2 separate regions of the Homo sapiens genome follow, and region 2 is linked to region 1. The links are contacts of gene promoters, found by promoter capture Hi-C in blood cells and fetal thymus (Javierre and others, 2016). All regions are on one chromosome and are shown on one strand. Each heading gives the region's core, a stretch centred on a gene start or on the middle of the fragment in contact. The rest is flanking DNA. Distances are from core to core; before and after follow the strand shown. Region 1 holds the start of PSMD5 (proteasome 26S subunit, non-ATPase 5). Region 2 holds the start of FBXW2 (F-box and WD repeat domain containing 2).

What was found. Contacts are between HindIII fragments. The CHiCAGO score rates a contact against its expected background, and 5 or more counts as called.
Region 2: a fragment that was not itself captured here is called in contact with the fragment with the promoter of PSMD5 in region 1 in 6 of 17 cell types (naive CD8 T cells, naive CD4 T cells, non-activated CD4 T cells and 3 more); the score reaches 10.4 in naive CD8 T cells.

Annotation. Positions count from the first base shown.
Region 1 is chr9:120,841,032-120,845,454 of GRCh38, forward strand. PSMD5 (proteasome 26S subunit, non-ATPase 5) reads right to left here and starts at 1,891. Exons shown (of 10, transcript NM_005047.4): 1 at 1,706-1,891. The coding sequence starts at 1,878. It also overlaps the pseudogene CUTALP. RefSeq lists enhancers at 1,512-2,041, 1,613-1,912, 1,800-2,094, 1,860-2,154, 2,113-2,462 and 1 more. The HindIII fragment of the contact is 10,742 bases long and covers 1-3,240 here.
Region 2 is chr9:120,789,261-120,793,522 of GRCh38, forward strand. It overlaps FBXW2 (F-box and WD repeat domain containing 2), which reads right to left and starts at 4,156. Exons shown (of 8, transcript NM_012164.4): 1 at 4,094-4,156; 2 at 3,889-3,997. B3GALT9 (beta-1,3-galactosyltransferase 9) reads left to right here and starts at 4,207. Exons shown (of 3, transcript NM_001386823.1): 1 at 4,207-4,262. RefSeq lists an enhancer at 3,857-4,262. The HindIII fragment of the contact is 318 bases long and covers 1,299-1,616 here.

The DNA.
Region 1 (4,423 bases), core at 641-3,140:
GTGAGCCACTGCACCGGGCCTACAAAGTGTTTTTAATCAAACACTACGGATGTGTAAAAAATCAAAAATAAAAGTTGTCCTACTATTTTCAGACCCACTTCCCTATTAATAGTTTCTGGTGTACCTTTGCAGATATTTGCAATGTTATACAAGTTTTACATGCCTGTGGGGGTTGGGAAGATTGTAATCCTTTTTAAAAATTACAGGTTAAAATTATAGATTGATATACCCTGCGATTTTCTTTTTCATTCAACAACACAGAGATTGGCCGGGCGCAGTGGCTCACGCCTGTAATCCCAGCACTTTGGGAGGCCGAGGCGGGCGGATCACGAGGTCCGTAGATCGAGACCATCCTGGCTAACATGGTGAAACCCCGTCTCTACTAAAAATACAAAAAATTAGCCGGGCGTGGTGGCGGGCGCCTGTAGTCCCAGGTACTCGGCAGGCTGAGGCAGGAGAATGGCGTGAATCAGGGAGGCGGAGGTTGCAGTGAGCCGAGATCGCGCCACTGCACTCCAACCTGGGAGACAGAGCGAGACTCGTCTGAAAACAAACAAACAAACAAAACAAAACAAAACAAAACACAGAGATCTTTCCATGTCCACATACATATATATACATCTACCTCAATAACTTAAATAACTGCACAGTGTTACAGAGTAATAGCGCATAATTTGGAATCCTCTGTTAACGGATATTTAGATTGTTTCTAGTGTTCTGGTGCCACACACGATATGTTATATTCTTGCATATAATGTTGTAGGGTCCTCCAGTCGCCCCCTTTCTTTCTCTGTCCTGATGGAAAATCAGAGTGCCTTGATTGCTCTCTGACCTAGCCAGCGGCAGGTTTCCCTAGCAGGCTTGACCATAAACCAGGGGCCTTGAACATTCACAGGCCTGATAAAGGTACCTAGGTTGTTGCCCAAAACACTGGAAGAAACTGGCCTCAACCCTGAGCCAAATTCCTTTAAACTCTCATCTGAACTCCATACCCTGACCCCCTCACTGCGGACATACCCAGGAACACCTTTCTCCCGGTGTCCGTCTTGACAATTTCTGCAGCCCTCTGCAGGTTTCCCCCTAAACGCTTTTGGACTGATCGCCTTGGCATTCAGTGCTTCTTTTTCTGTCATCCCAACCAGCCACATCTCGGGAAGGTTTGAAGCACTCCCTCGTGGGAACTCTCTTGCCGCTGCTTTTGGGGCGATTCCAGCCTCGGGTTCGAAAGAACAAAGTAACTGCACATTTTGTGCGCGTATACTTGCATTAAATTTTTTTAACAAGAATGACTGGATGAAAAAGCATGTGAATTTAAAATGCTGATGGTTCTTGCCACATTGCCAGGATAGGATCCTTTTAGAAGGGGAAACAAATCAAGAACCTGTACAAAGAGATGTGGAATGCTCCTTGTAAGTGGACAGCTTTGCTTTCCTCCTTTAATTTCTATTTGATGAAGAAGGCAGTGCCTCACTGCTCAGAGGCAGCGAGGCCAGGCGACGGGAGAAAACACCCTGGGGCACTCTCAGAGGCTGAACCTGAACCCCATCTCCTGCCTCTGAACCCAGGATCCTTCCTTCTCTGCAAATTTCGGCTACTTTCCACCTCCCCTGTGACTGGGAAAAGCGCTGTTCTTGCCCTCAACCACTCTCATGTCCATATTTAGGGGTGCCCCTCTCCTCGGCTCAAGCCCCCGGGGTCCTCTCACCTATGGTTCTCGTTAAGCAGGGAGAAGAGCGGGCCGAGGCGCAGCTCCGCCGCTTGCTGGCGAAGCTCGTTGAGCGGCACTGCCTGCAGCACGGAGTGAAGCGCGCGTAGCTCCTCCAGCGGCGCTTCCAGCCTCGCTACCTCTCTCAGCAGCGCCAAAGCCTGGGCTGCCATCTTGCCCCCCGACGCAGGGGCTGGCCCAGCGGCCCAGTTCCCGGGGCGCTTTCCTGAACCTCGCGAGATCTGATCACAGCCTCCTTGTCCCTGAGATGGCTATGGGGCTGCCAAGCCTCGCGAGAAGCCTCCGTTAGGGCCGTGTCAACTGTAGCCAGTGGTTGCGGCTCCCTCAGTCTGGCGTCATCTAGGTCGCTGCTCAGGGAAATGCGGAGGCCAGTAGGCTTACGTGTTTACCGCGTAGGGCAAAGCCTTGCCAAATTCCCGGCCAGCGGAGCGGCGAGGGTGGGGACTCACGGGAAGTTAAACAGCCTCGTCGGCGTCCTCGAGGCTCCAAAACCAGGCTCTAGGCGGGGACGACTGCAGCCGTTATGGAGGCCACCGCGGCTACGGCCGCGGCTGAGGCCTCCCCAGGTGGAGCGGTGGCCTGGAGGGGAATCTTGATCCTGGGCCAGCCACCTGTCAAGAGGAGGCGGAGCGTCATGCCTCTGGAAGACTGGATGAATATTCTCCAGGAGCCTGACGAAGGCGTGAGTAATAGGGACGTGCGCCGCCTTGTTGGTGTTGATCAGTCCACCAAGGAGAAGCAGCTGGTCGCAGTGGCCGTACCTGTAATCCCAGCGCTTTGGGAGGCCGCGGCGGGAGGATCGCTTGAGCCCGGGAGTTCGAGACCAGCCTGGGCAACATAGTGAGAAACCCGTCTCTACCAAAAAGAAAAAAAAAAAAAAAGGAAAAAAATTAGTGCGGTGTGGTGGCACGCACCTGTAGTCCCAGCTACTCGGGAGGCTGAAGCGGGAGGGTCCCCTAAGTCTAGGAGGTCGAGGCTTCAGTGAGCGGTGATTGTGCCACTGCACTCCAGCCTGGGCGACAGAGCAAGACCCTGCTTTCCCCTCTTGTCCTCCACTACCCTCAGGAAACCAAGAAAGACCAGCGTGGAGAGTTGGTCGCCCATCTGCTCTAAGCTGCTGTGTATTCCCCTGTAATGTAAACATCGTGAAGGTGGAGACCCAGTTAACCTTTTAGGTGGAAGGCCAGATGACAGAGGGCGGCATCTGACCCGGAAGGCCCTCTGCAACCAGGCCAAATACATCTACAGGGAACCAATGGGAAACATCTGGGGAGGACAACCCAAATAAGTATCATGCGAGCAAGGGATGGTTTGAGAACTTTAAAAATCGCTGCTGTTTTGCAACATACGAAGTTGATGGGGAGGAAGGACCCTTAAATCCTGAGTGGGTATCGAGTATTCCAAGCAACTGGAGAGAGGCTTTGTGCCTCAACAGGTCTTCAACGCCAAGGAGATGACCCATCTTTTGCAGTGCATGCCTTCCTACTTTTGGGGCAAAAGACAAAAATCTGGAAAGCTTAGAGGAAGCTAAGGACAGGATTTCCCTCATTTTTTTGTGGCAGTGCCTCAGGTGACAAAATGATAAAACCACTGCTGCTTTACAAAGACTCTAACACCCCACTTGTCTTTTAGAGATAAACGCCTTCCTGTTTTCTTGTAATCACACCCAGAATCACCACTGCCACTTTTTGGATTAGTTTTACAATTTTTTTATCCATCAAATCCGAAGTCATTTAACAAAAAAAATCTGGAAATCAGAATGTTGCTAACTGTGGACAGAGGTCCCAATCACCCAGATTCATTATTCTTTGTTCATTCTAATGTTGATACTGTGTTTCTCCCTCAGGAAGGCCCTAGCTTTCTTCAGCCCTTGGGTCAGGGTATAACTGAAGCATTTGAACATAATCAAGCATATGTTTGACCACTTTGCTGACTGTATTGAAAAAACCCTCACCTTACTCTGAAAGAAGCATGGCAACAGTACAATATTGCCGATGCTTTGGTAGTGATAAAAGAGGTGATGGGTGATATAAAATCAGCCACTCTTAAGCTTGCTGGAAACTGTGGGAGGATGTGTGAATGATGCATATTTCCCTAGAGCTAATGAAGAAGTTAAAAAAAATCTTAGTGTCTGCAAAACAGGTGGGTTTAAGATTTATTGATATTAGGGAAAGTGAAATTAATGAGCTACTCAAGTTTCTGTCTTTGGTCATCACTGAGAGTCTATTTCCATAGGAAGAAGTCTTTGCAGAGGAAATTGAATGCTGTCTGATGCTACAATTCATATGGATCCTTTCCTGGATTGAAGCCTGACTTTTAAAAAAGGTTTCAATAAATTGCTTATACCTATGAAGAGATGCAAAAGAACCTTCAAAATAAAGCAAAGGACTTGAAGAAAGAGAAGGAAGACATGAAGAAGAGGATGTCATTTAGGTGAAGGTGATGGATACAGAATCTGAGTCTGAGGGGAGCCTGGTTGACAGAGAGACAAAAAAAGAAATTTTTTTTTTCTGACTAAAAAAAAAAAGGAAATTTTGTTAACAAAATCAAGAATTTAAAAAAAATGCTGTGAGAGCTGATCTATGCATCTGGTTTGTGAGCCAGTATTCTGTGATGGCTGCAGTTTTTAGAGATCCTAGTAGCTCTACACATCTGTCTTCTGCTTTCCTAGAACCTGGGCACCCCATGGATGACTCA
Region 2 (4,262 bases), core at 208-2,707, 52 kb before region 1:
CAGGAGAACCACGACCAAGTGGTAAGATCTGGAGGTAGTGTGTCTACCCGTTAGACCATTTTCTCCTTTAGGAGAATGACAAATTGCTCCTGAGCTAACTGTAACAAATAATTTTTTTTAAAGTATCCTGTATTAGTGTCAACAGGTGTTAATTCACTCTTAATGAGGATTAGACTAATGAAAGATTACAAAAAATATAACCAGTAAAAACTATCTTTCTCAAGACTATGTGTTGATAGATGTTAATGCTGGGTGATGTGTACATAGGGATTTATTATTCTCTTTATTTCCATATATTTAAATATTTCCATGGTTTAATAAAAACTTTCCTTCTGAATACTCAGTTTCTCACAAGACTGTCATATTAATTTTAAAAACATATGTCCAAATTAATGTGAAAAAGGAAAGTTAATTTCTTTCCAGACATATCACCTAGATCAGGTCTACACAAAAAGCAAGATCTCATCTTTCAACTTTGATAATGTAAGGTGAGTAAAATTGTAAGTGTCCAATATCAAATTTGGCAATAACATTCTTAGACAAATAAGCAATCTGATTTATTAGTAGAAGCAACCAAACCTTGCAATCACATCATCTGCTAACAGTTTTGATTTCTGGAACTGTGACTAGACTTCAAGATAATACGTTTCAAGCCAAAGTTTGGGCTAGAGAAGATTTATTAATCTGTATTAAAAATTTACCTAGCTGACAAAAAATAATCAGATGGCTAAAAGTTTTATCGACTTATCACGCAATAACAAGCCCCCTCCTTCCTCTAAATCCTAACAACCCTCTTATCTATACAACATTTCTTCAAAATCTCTACTTCTAAAAAATAATAATTTGCAACAAGACAAAGCAATTATCTTCTGTGGGCATCTGCATATTGTCACAATAGCTAGTTAATTAATACTGGTCAATTAAAAACACACACCAGGCTGGGCACAGTGGCTCACGCCTGTAATCACAGCACTTTGTGAGACTGAGGTGGGCTCGGCCGGATCACGAGGTCAGGAGATCGAGATCATCCTGGCTAACACAGTGAAACCCCATCTCTACTAAAAATACAAAAAATTCCCCTGGCATGGTGGTGGGTGCCTGTAGTCCCAGCTAGTCGGGAGGCTGAGGCAGGAGAATGGCGTGAACCCAGGAGGCGGAGCTTGCAGTGAGCCGAGATCACGCCACTGCACTCCAGCCGGGGCGAGAGAGCAAGACTCCATCTCAAAAAAGAAAAAAAAGAAAAAAAACCACACACCTGCTCCTGAAACATTTTTAACAGTGAAAAGTGTGGTGTGGCAAGCTTCCTCCATCACATCTACACATACATATATACACACATACATACACATGCTGACACACATCTATTGTAGAAATGCTTGTATTTAAGTGAGCTGAACTGTTATTCAAACGGCTACAAGGCAAATTTAGAATACTCATTAAAATATTATCAGGTTCCCATCATTCACAAATATCTAAGAGACATACTATAATATGCCAAATTCACATGTATACCTATGTAACAAACCTGCACGTTGTGCACATGTACCCTAGAACTTAAATTTAAAAAAAAAATGCCAAATTAATGTGCCCATGACACCGCTAAAGATTACGGAAGAAGCTTTTTCAGAGAGCACATCTAAAAAAATTCAGCCATGTCTCAGATTTATATATTCTCCTAACTCTTAATAAAAAAAATTTTCCCAACTCTTAGATTGCCTTTTAAACCACTCAATCCCTTGTAAGATTGAGCAGTTCACCTCTGATTATTCTGAAAAAGGCATTTTTTTCCCTAAAAAAGCAAGTCTCACTAACTGCAGAATGCACTATTTAAAAAACACCAATTTTTACTTTTCTGAACAGATCAACTAACTTTGGAGGGGGCCTTCTAAGGTAACAGGTCTAAACTGGACTCTTTTAGGCAGCCTCTAGAAATATCATACACTGGTTGCACAAACCTCAGGAAATGGGATTTCAATTCAACATGAGGAGCTTTTAAATCTCAGCGCTTTCCAACAATGGAATAGCTACCTCCAGAGTAGTGAGTTTCCCATTACCACGAACAGTCAAGGACAGTTGGACACAGAGGCAGAATGTGATAAATGAAAATACTTTGGAGGTTGGCCAGATGTTTTACTGATTCAGCCACTTCCTATGTGATTATGGGCATGTCCAACTAACTTTTAAGCTTCAGTTTTATCATCTGTAAAATGGAAGCCATCATCCAACTTGAAGGGTGAAACTCAGAAATATAGCAGGGACATGCTTAGCACAGTGTACAGTCTAGCGGGTAAAAACTCAAATGGTACTTTTTGTTAGTTTTACTACTATGAACACCTGGCAGTAAAGATTTCTGTGACACTAAGGGTGGAATGGACATGACCACTAACATCTCTTTTGACCCTATCATCTTATCACTAAGTTTCTCTTCAAAATACCTGGAAGAAAAACTCAAGGGCTCAAACTTACTAGGGGTTTAATTTTATAAAGAAGAGCACCTGTTTATTGGAGGCTCTAGTTTCCCAGTAGGTGCCTTATTCTACCCACATTCCCTGCTGTTTGGCCCCCTTACCCTACGTCCCTACCCCAGAGTTAACATTCAACTTGCCCTCTTGCCTTCAGTATCAATAATCACAAAGTGGGTCATGCAACAAAAAGACTCCTAAATTGGAAAATGAGAGCCTGGGTTTGGTCTCAGGTTCTGCCATTAACTCCCTATGTTACCTAGGCAACTCACATATTTATATTGGTTTTAAAGAAAAAGTACCACTGGTAAACATTATCTCATTTCATCTTCATAACCTCATGGAAGGTATCAGTAATGCCGCCCTTAACTAACATTAATGAGGAAATTTACGGCTCAAGAAGTGGAGTGGCCTTCCCAGAATGGCACAGGAAGTAGCAGGCTCAATATTTTGCCCAGTACCCATTCTCCCAAAACCTATACTCAGAGGTATTAGAGACAGGACCTTCTGGAAAACAGTGTAAATGTGTTTTCCCCTCCTCCTCTATCAGAACCTGGCCTAGTCAAGAGTGAAAGCAACATAATTGTTAGTGGTAGAGGGAAGGAGGCTTCATTTCCCCCTTTTCTTATCAAACAAAGAGCACAGAGGCGCTGAAAATGTATACACACCTATAAACTTACATATGCATAAAATGTATTCTGAATATTCAAGAAACTGATAACCCTGGTTGCCTCCAGAGAGAACTGGAGAGCTGCAGAATAGGAATGAGGGGTCCCTTTTTATTGTATACCTTTTAAAACTGAAAACCATGTTAAGTATAATATACTATCAAAAAATAGCCTTTAGTTTTAAGGTGAATTTTTTTAAAGCTTTGAAAGAATACAAATAATGTTTATAAAATATGTGTTCTGCAACTCCACTTGTTGCTGGGTGACCTTGGGCAAATCACTTCACCTGTCTCATGCCCTGTTTCCTCACTTGTAAAATACAGCCAAGAGCATTACCTACAAGGGTTTTTATGAGGGTTAAACAAGACAGTGCAAGTAAAGCGTTTAGCACAGTACTCGGCACGCTGTAAGCCTACAGTAAATGTCAGTTACCATTATTACTTAGCATTAATATTGTTATCTTTGCTTTACTTCAAGCAGCACCCCACATACACACCTGTTTTCATGGCATACCCACAATTATGGCGCAGTATAGCGCTTTGTACTTCATAAACCACCTCATCACACTTCATCGTCTTTCAAACGTTTGGTAGCCCTGGGACATCACTGTTAACTCATTTCGCAGCTAAGGAAATGGAGGCAGTAGGAGGCAGTAACTCCAAAACCCTGTTTTCCCGTCTCTAAAATCCAGATCCCATCAACCCATTCGTTGCTCCCAGGTCCCTTGCTCTCGGAATCGTGTTCCGCGCGGCACTGACCTGAGCGAGCGCCCCGGGGCCCGGGACCTCGCGCCGGGTTCACAGCTACTAGGCACGCTCGGACCGCCAGAGCCTTGCAGCGGCCGGGTCCGCTCCGCAGCCATGGCGCCTGCAGGGAAAGAAAAACAGCCAAGGCGCGGCGGGTCAGCAGAGCCGCGGGCGCCTAAGAGTCCCCTCCCCGACCGGCCCCGCCTCGCATACAGACCCGGACCTGCGGCCGCTGCTCCCGGTCCGCAGCCTCACAGGGGAGCGGCTTCCGGTGCTGCCTGCGTCATCTCCGCGCGTCCCTCAGCTCCGCGGCTCCCGGCGGAAGCGGCTGCACTTCCGGTCCCCGCCCGGAGGTGGGTGGTGGGAGGCTGGAGGCCGGGAGTAGG